Linked DNA regions of Homo sapiens: regions 2 and 3 are each linked to region 1. Evidence: promoter capture Hi-C in human tissues and cell types (Jung and others, 2019). All regions are on one chromosome and are shown on one strand. Each heading gives the region's core, a stretch centred on a gene start or on the middle of the fragment in contact. The rest is flanking DNA. Distances are from core to core; before and after follow the strand shown.

Evidence for each region. The method cuts DNA at HindIII sites, captures the fragments that hold promoters and counts their contacts. A contact is called where the count stands out against the background at its distance.
Region 2: a fragment that was not itself captured here is called in contact with the fragment with the promoter of THAP10 in region 1 in 2 of the 25 tissues and cell types used here (dorsolateral prefrontal cortex and hippocampus).
Region 3: a contact is called between a fragment that was not itself captured here and the fragment with the promoter of THAP10 in region 1, in 2 of the 25 tissues and cell types used here (H1 embryonic stem cells and aorta).

What each region holds. Positions count from the first base shown.
Region 1 is chr15:70,891,016-70,893,987 of GRCh38, reverse strand. THAP10 (THAP domain containing 10) reads left to right here and starts at 1,555. Exons shown (of 3, transcript NM_020147.4): 1 at 1,555-2,144. The coding sequence starts at 1,716. LRRC49 (leucine rich repeat containing 49) reads right to left here and starts at 1,162. Exons shown (of 16, transcript NM_017691.5): 1 at 1,046-1,162; 2 at 348-404. The coding sequence starts at 1,093. RefSeq lists an enhancer at 1,202-1,900. The HindIII fragment of the contact is 16,576 bases long and covers 1-2,972 here.
Region 2 is chr15:70,682,618-70,685,589 of GRCh38, reverse strand. UACA (uveal autoantigen with coiled-coil domains and ankyrin repeats) reads left to right here. Exons shown (of 19, transcript NM_018003.4): 8 at 1,144-1,325; 9 at 2,795-2,832. Among named protein-coding and RNA genes, the nearest start is that of SALRNA2, 49 kb to the right of the region's middle. The HindIII fragment of the contact is 3,042 bases long and covers 202-2,972 here.
Region 3 is chr15:71,085,522-71,088,493 of GRCh38, reverse strand. All of the region lies in intron 3 of LOC105370886 (a long non-coding RNA gene), which reads left to right. Among named protein-coding and RNA genes, the nearest start is that of THSD4, 28 kb to the left of the region's middle. RefSeq lists an enhancer at 2,321-2,936. The HindIII fragment of the contact is 3,201 bases long and covers 1-2,972 here.

The DNA of each region.
Region 1 (2,972 bases), core at 306-2,805:
GGGAGGCAGAGGTTGCAGTGAGCCAAAATTGTGCCACTGCACCCCAGCGCCCCAGCCTGGGTGATACAGCTAGACCCTGTCTCAAGAAAAAAAAAAGTGTAAATGTCAAAAAAAAAAAACAAAAAAACCCTTACCCTTTTGTAATCAATAAAATCACATTAAGTTTTTTAAAGAGGGCTATTTTAGCTTTATGTAGGCAGAAAGTAAGAACTAGCTTTAAACTGGAAATCAAAGCAAATCTACTTAAATTTTTCAGTTTAGAATCTATCTACACTTTAAGTCATGCTGCTATTTGTGTAGAATTTAAAACAATCTTCAATTTAAATGCCAACCTTCTTAAATCTTACTTTGTTTTTTTCAGGAAGCGATGATGTTTGAATAACCAGATGAAGCCCGCAGTTCACCTGAAATGTAAAAATTAAACCATAAAATTTGCTCTTAATACACAAACACATATTTCCAAAAAAAAAAAAGGTACAAACAGAAATACAACAAAAAAATAGAACACAATGCTCTATTTCTGTTTCTGGTAAATGATCTTGTTCTGAGGATTTGCTGAAAACAATAAAATCACATCTAAGAATTAAAAGGTTTCACTGATTTATTTTCCAAAATGTCGGCAGCAATTTAACCCTCTAGTTAGTACCTCAGGCTTTCGACATTTGCCATTCAGGTCTAAATAAACATCTCAATGAGACAGGTGAAGGAGGTGGGAGTCCCTAATGATAAATTCTCTTCACAGTTAAAAGGAAAAGAAAAGAAAAAGGAATTGACTGGCCAAAGGAATTTAAATAAACCCAAGCCTTTCACAGCAGACCAGCTCCACCTTCTGGGGAGCCCAGATCCTGGACAAGACTTTGAGTACCCATCATACAATATTAAATTGTGCCTTGGTCCAGCCCACGAACCTCAAACCCTGGTCAGACAATAGCTTGAGTAGACCCAGCGGTGCCGGTCCTAATAATACAGCCCATCTCCTAGGACAAAGACGCCAGTCAGAAAGAGTACCAGTGGGAAGAAAGAGAAAGTAGAAGGCCCAACTTACGTTGTTCGCAGCCCGGCCAGAAACAGAGCGATATTTCCCGGGAATCATGATAGGAGACAGTCCAGGTTCTCTGTTAGATCTGCCTTCCAGGTGACGCTACAGCGGAGATTCAAAGAGACCCGAAAGAGGTCATCTCCCAGGCAACCTGCTCAGGGTTACCATGGAAACGACCATTTCCGGTCTGGACCTCTCCCGAATCGATAGAGCCACACAGTCGTTGCAGCTTCTAGTTGTATTCGTGAGAGCCCAGTGCGTCACCACTTCCTCGTTCTATTTTCCCAGCCTCATAAAAACAGAGCGGGAGTATTGGGAGGAGGATAAGCTGGGGAAGAGGCTGGCCACACTGGTTGCTATAACCACCACCACTTCCGGTCCGTTCCTCTTTACGGCCCACCTCAGCGCTGCCCGCGCGAAATTTGTATCCCTCTGCTTGTGTCCACTGGCTCCTGGGGAGCAGCGCAGGGAGGAGGAGGAGGAAGATATCAAAGAGCCCTCCCATTGGGGGCCCCAGATCGCCACTTCCGGTGACCAGAGGTAGGGAAGGAAACAATCCCGACCCGGAGTGGACAGGTGAGGAGGGGAGGACTTGCCTCGCCGAGGCCGCTGCGAGGAGCGTGCCCAAGGGCGAAGGTCCAGGGAACCCGGCTCCCGCGCACCGAAGACGGCCGCCATGCCGGCCCGTTGTGTGGCCGCCCACTGCGGCAACACCACCAAGTCTGGGAAGTCGCTGTTCCGCTTTCCCAAGGACCGGGCCGTGCGGCTGCTCTGGGACCGCTTCGTGCGGGGTTGCCGCGCCGACTGGTACGGAGGCAATGACCGCTCGGTCATCTGCTCTGACCACTTTGCCCCAGCCTGTTTTGACGTCTCTTCGGTTATCCAGAAGAACCTGCGCTTCTCCCAGCGCCTGAGGCTGGTGGCAGGCGCCGTGCCCACCCTGCACCGGGTGCCCGCCCCGGCACCTAAGAGGGGAGAGGAGGGAGACCAAGCAGGCCGCCTGGACACGCGAGGAGAGCTCCAGGCAGCCAGGCATTCTGAGGCTGCCCCAGGTCCAGTCTCCTGTACACGCCCCCGAGCTGGGAAGCAGGCTGCAGCTTCACAGGTAAAGAGAGACCACCGAAGGTTGTGTAAGGACCCCTGGACTCTGGCTGGGCTCCTCCACTTAGTGTCACCTTGGGAAAGGCACCTCATCTCGAAAGTTCCTGTTTTCTAATCTGCAAAGTTAGGGGTGTGCTTTAGAGGTGATCTCCAAGGTCCCACTTATCATTAACACTTTGGAATTAAGTGACCCAGTTAATTCCTTCTAACTGCTCCTCCCCCAAAACTCACACACACACACACACACACACACACACACACACACACACACACACACACAGAGTCTTGTCCTGCAGAGTAGTGAGTTGCTTTCACTCGCTGCTCCAGAGTTTTTAAATAGAAAGGGTTTAATTTGAGCAAATCTCCAGGATTGGAGTGCTTGAAACTGTGTTGCATAACATTACATAAGCTTGAGGAAAGTCCCTTATTTGTGTCACAAATGATGGGGCGAAGGAGATGTGGAGCTACAGATGAAGATGATGGAGCTTGCTAATAAATCCCTTCCCACCCCAAGCTTCCTTTATGACTGATAACTAGCTCCAGCTGCCTTTAAGTTCAGTATCCCTAGTGAGCTGACTTTCCCCATCTTGCTCTCTTCTGCCTACTTTTCTGTTCCTTCTAAACATTGTTTGCACTCATTTTGCATCTGGTTACTACTACCTTCTTCCCCACGTACCATTTTAAAGAAAACTTTCCAGCCTTCCTTGTGATAAACTTCAGCCTTGCCACCATTACACAGATTAAATTATAGCAAGAGGTTAGTAATTTCCTCAGGGGTCTGTAATCCTTACTTAGGTCCGGTTGCCAGACCAACACTCTTTCTGCAGTACTA
Region 2 (2,972 bases), core at 473-2,972, 210 kb after region 1:
TAGTTTCTAATACTCTATATTCATTTCTTTTTTTCCTGTTTTATATGTAGCATTTTTTAAATAACAAAAACTTTGTTAATGCCTGTTTTGTACAGAATTTCTTATCAGCAACTACAGGGGAGTTGGGGGACAAGGCTTGAATATGAGAAACACAGCATACATAGCAGAGAAAAGGCAAGAGTCAGTTTCCTTAAGAGATCCAATATTCACAATTGAAGACAGAGTTAGATATAGGATATGTCATTTCATTTCATTACGTGTTGGTTAGCCCCATCCTAAAAAATAGAGGATTAGACAAAATAATTTCTAGGGTCCTTCTAGATTTTCATGACAATTATTTTGTTGCATGATTAGTATTTGCTGATGTACTGTGAGATGTTTGAGTGCCAGTGGTTCTATTGCAATAGAATAAAGCAATGATCCATGTTGCATGGCGTTAGTTGTAGTCTGAAGATGTGAAGGTCTTCAGGTAGAAGAATCAAGGTTCTTCTAAGCAGGAACATCAGGAATGGAATCTGATACTTCTCTTGGAGGAGAAGGGATTCTTAGGGGAGGTTTGCATGATGTGGTTCAGTTCATGAAGGGACTGAAAAAGTTGGGTTTTGATCACATGGGGTGACAGTATCAGTTGTGGAAAATTTTTGTGGTGATTATTTACGTGTAGGACATTGAAGAAGTGGAATAAATGAGGTTGGTTTGGTAGTAGAAGTAATTAAAGGATATAAGGATATAGAAGACAAAGCAAATGTTTTTATAAATGCAATGAATATAAAGTAAAATCTATATCTGTAACAGGCATGACTTCTTAAAGTAGTGTCTATTCTTCAAGAAGGGAGCATGTCTTAGTGTTCAAGTAAGTGTTCAAGTAGTGTTGAACACTTACTTGAACTTAGTGTTCAAGTAGAACTACAGTTTATAAGAAGCAAAACATTCCTTACTGATAAACAGTATTGGTTCATCTCCCTCTACAACATGGATTTGCTTACTTACATTATAGTCACTTGCTTTGAGGCAGTGTGTGTTGCATATATAATCTAGTTTATCCAGTGAACACTAAGACAGTGTTCAACAATAGGGCAGAATATTTCTGCAATATTTCCTTGGAGTTTTCTCAGTCTTTTGCTCTTCCATTTTTCCATTTAGAACTGCCCTCATGCTAGGTTGCGAATATGGTTGCAGAGATGCAGTAGAAGTCTTAATTAAAAATGGTGCTGATATAAGCTTGCTGGATGCGCTTGGCCATGATAGTTCTTACTATGCAAGAATTGGTGACAATCTGGACATTCTAACCTTGTTGAAGACTGCATCGGAAAATACCAACAAAGGTATCAGCAGTTTTCTGTAACTAGAAAAGTCCACATTAACAAAGAGCCACTTTTTAAAAGACTTAGGTAGTAGAACTACAGTTTATAAGAAGCAAAACATTCCTTACTGATAAACAGTATTGGTTCATCTCCCTCTACAACATGGATTTGCTTACTTACATTATGGTCACTTGCTTTGAGGCAGTGTGTGTTGCATATATAATCTAGTTTATCCAGTGAACACTAAGACACTGGAATAACTTCAGAACTGAGAAGGAAGAGTCAAGTGTTTTACTAAGTTTTTTTTTTTTTTTGATGAAGAGGGGTGAACCTCCCAACTTTTTATACTTACGAAGTTTTAAAGAATCATTGTTTAAACATGTATGTAAAATAGTCAGCTGATATTTACCAAATGCCTATGCCATGATTTTTTATGTTTTTTTTAAAAAAAACAGGAACATACAGAAAAGCACAATGAATAGTCACTCATTACCACTGAGAAGCCTCTGTTAACATTTTGAGAAATATCCTTCTAGTCTTTTCCCATTAAATTGAATTCACTGTAAATCTGAATTGTAGCTTACTTTTTTATGTAACCTATTTTGAAGGCCTTTCCCTCAAAAATAGTTTTTCTATAGTATGATTTTTGTTGGTGTATGAGATTCCATTTATTTAAGTTTCATTTAATAAAGCAGTTTTCTACATGTAGTGTTTAAGCTATTTATAATTATTCATTAATACACAAAGGTTATGACTGTCCTTATGCATAAATATTTTAGTATATTTTTATTACCCTTTAGGGTCGGTTCCTAGAAATTGAATCACTGAGTTTCAGGGCATGCACATTTCTTTAAGCCTTTGGTCTATGTTGGCAAATTGCCTTCGAATTTAGGAGCTTTTTAAATTTTCTTCCCCTCTTTTTTTTTAGATATGGGGTCTCCCTTTGTTGCCCAGGCTAGAGTATAGTGGTGCCATCATAGCTCACTGCAATCTCAAACTCCTGGGCTCAAGTTATCTTCCTGCCTCAGCCTCATGAGTAGCTGGGACTACAGGCATGTACCACCATGGCCAGCTAATTTTTTATATTTTTTTTGTAGAGATGGGGTCTTGCTATGTTGCCCAGGCTGGTCTTGAACTCCTAGCCTCAAGTGATCCTCCTGCCCCAGCCTCCCAAAGTGCTGGGATTACAGGTGTGAGCCACCATACCCAGCCTAAATAAATTTCCCATTTTTTACCTGCCTCCAATCCTTAGTCTTTAATCTTACCTACTTGAATATTGTTATAAAAATTTTGCTAATTTGATAGGCAAAAGTGAGATGTCATTATTGTTTCAAGCATACGTTTTAGAAATAAAACTAAAAAGTTGTAAGCTTTAGAGGAAACTCTAAAGTTTATTTATTTAATATTGACTCAATTGTATAGTTAGGGAATGCGTACCTACCCCAAGTTAACCTGCCATTTTGTTGTTTCTCTTTTTCTCTAAATCTTAGGGAGAGAACTTTGGAAGAAAGGGCCATCTTTGCAACAGGTAGATATTAATTTTAATTTTAAATAATTATATGTATTGTATAGTTTAAAGTGCTTAGTAAAACTAGTTAATAGTTAGCATAACTATTCTGAGTTTAAATGCGTTCTATCTCTCTTCTCAGTTAATCAAGCCCGTGTAGA
Region 3 (2,972 bases), core at 231-2,730, 190 kb before region 1:
GGCTCTCAATTTTAATGTTACTGGTGTATAGAAATGCTGCTGGTATTTGCATATTGATTTTGCAACCTGAAAGTTTACTGAAGTTGTTTATTAGTTCTAGACCTTCTGGTGGAGTCTATGGGGTTTTCCAGGTATAAAATTATATTGCCTGTGAATGAAGACAGTTTGACTTCCTCTATTCCTATCTGAATGCCTTTTATTTCTTTCTCTTGCCTGATTGCTCTGGCCAGGACTTCCACTACTATGTTGTATAGAAGTAAGAATGGGCATCCTTGTCTTTTTTTCATTTCTCAAGGGGAATGTTTCCAGCTTTTGTACATTCAGTATGATGTTGGCTGTGGGTTTATCATAAATGACTCTTATTATTTTTAGATATGTTCCTTCAATTCCTAGTTTGTTGAGGGTTTTTATCACGAAGGGATATTGGATTTCGCCTAAAGCTTTTTCTACATCTACTGAAATGGTCACATGGTTTTTGTTAATTCTGCTTAGGTGGTGAATCCATTTATTGATTTCCGTATGCTGAACCAACCTTGTATCCCAGGAATAAAGCTTACTGATTGTGGTGAAATAGTTTTTGATATGCTGCTGGGTTTGGTTTTCTAGGATTTTGTTGAGGATTTTCATGTCTATGTTCGTCAGGGATATTGGCCTGTAGTTTTCTTTTTTCACTGTGTCTTTGTCAGATTTTGGTATCAGGATAATACTGGTTTCCTAGAATGAGTTAGGGTAGAATCCTTCCTCCTCAGTCTTTCAGGATAGTTTCAGTAGGACTGGTACCAGTTCTTCTTTGTATGTCTGGTAGAATTTGGCTATGAATCTGTCTAGCCCAGTACTTTTATGGGTTGGTAGGTTTTTTATTACTGATTCAATTTCAGAACATATTAATGGTCTGTTCAGAGTTTCATTTTCTTCCTGATTCAATCTTGGCAGGTTGTGTGCTTCCAGGAATTTATCCATTTTCTCTAGGTTTTCTAGTTTGTGTGCATATAGGCGTTCCTAATAGTCTCTCAGGATCTTTAGTATTTCTGTGGGATCATTTGTAATGTCACCTTTGTCATTTCTGATTGTGCTCATTTGGGTCTTTCTTTTTGCTTTCTTTCTTTCTTTCTTTCTTTCTTTCTTTCTTTCTTTCTTTCTTTCTTTCTTTCTTTCTGTCTTTCTCTCTCTCTTTCTTTCTTTCTTTTCAAAAAACCAACTCTTCATTTTGTGGATCCTTTGTATGTTTTAGGATGGGTCTTAATTTTGTTTAGTTCTGTTCTATTTTAGTTATTTCTTTTCTTCTGCTAGTTTTGAGATTAGCTTGTTCTTTGTTTTTCTAGTTCATTTATGTGTAATGTAATGTTAGATCATTAATTTGAGATCTTTCTATTTTCTTGATGTAGGCATTCAGTGCTATAAACTTCCCTCTTAACAACTGCTTTTGCCTCGTCCCAGAGATTTTGGAAGATTGTTTTCATTCATTTCAAAGAATTTGATAAAAAGACTTTTGAAGTTAACAATGAGTGGAGGCTTCCATCTTGGAAGTCTGGAGTTTTAGTATATTCCCCTGGTGATCTAGCACTTCCTGCAGTGGGAATTGTGGGATTTTCCTGCTATGCTTGTAATGTTGGAAGAATGGTCAGTACATTACTCAAGAGTCTTACTCTCTGCCTATCAGTCACACAGAGGCAGGAGAGTATGTTGACTAGTTTCTCACTTTGGACCTGAAGCTACTTATAACAACCCACCTATAACAACCCACAAAGGCCCACATTGGGCCAAAAAGCATAAGGAGTCCCTTGATCTAACTCCACCGCACAGTAGGATGATAAGACTTTGTTCTGAAAAGCCCTTGGGAATTTCACATACCCTTCCCTTGTCCCCTGGGAGCTGTGTCACCCATGGACACTCTTTCTTTCCTACCCTCACCACTTCCTGTGCTCACCTGGATACTCCTGCTCCCTCACTCCCCTTAGCTCCCCACTCAGGAGTCTCACATCTCTTTGGCCTTCTATGGGGGCTGTCAGAACCATGTCCTGCTTTCATTTAAAGATGAGTAAATGGGGGCTGCAGACACAGGAAGGTAGAGGAGGAAATTTAGAAAAGCAGCTCTAAAAGCCAAAGTTCTATAAGATAATGAAATCTTTCAGATTTTCAAGAATGTCCTCCTCTTAGCACAACTCCTCTGCCTTCTTCTCATCTCCCCATTGATGTCTGCTATGTCTGCAGAAGGGGGTGAGGGTGAAGAAATAGACCCACCCTGCCAGGAAGCCTTCACATCACAGTGGCTGTCTGGGAACCCAGAACTGGGTACATAGCAAGTTGATTTCTGAGACCCCGGGCAGCACATACAAGCTAAAATCTTGCTTTTCTCTGTGGGATGGTCCAGAAAGAATACCATGCTTCAAAGCAATTCTGCATACAAGGTGGTAATTGCAGCTTGGGGAAGGGACCACAAGTGAGGAGTGCCCCCAGGACGTGGATCAAGTTGCCTTGAGAGCACAATTAACACAGCAGGTTACAGACCTTACAGAAATGGAGGCTCACAGGACACAGCAAGGCTCTGCGTTAGTTAATTGATTACATTAGCATATCTAAAGAAAGACTCTGTGGAAACCAGGTAGAACTATGTCTGCTTGGAATCTAGAAAGAACTCAAGCAGAAAGGCACACTTAGGAAAGCCTTGCTAAGGGAGTCAATCCTGAACTGTAGCAGAGGCCAGCTGTTCAATCGCCCTCCCACTGGCTTAGGAGGGGAAATGAAAACACCCGTGGAGTCCCCAGCCTCTACCACAGATAGATCAAAACACTCTTCTCTTGTCTCTGCTCTGCCTCTGCTTCCATGATAGGTAGGTTGAGACTGAGAACGGTGTGCACCCAGGAGCGAGGGTCCTGCAATTGCTTCATGAGATGGGGCATGGGACAAGAGCACCAAGCACAAGGTTAACAGAACTATCCAGACTGAAGTCAACACCCCCTTTTCACCCCACC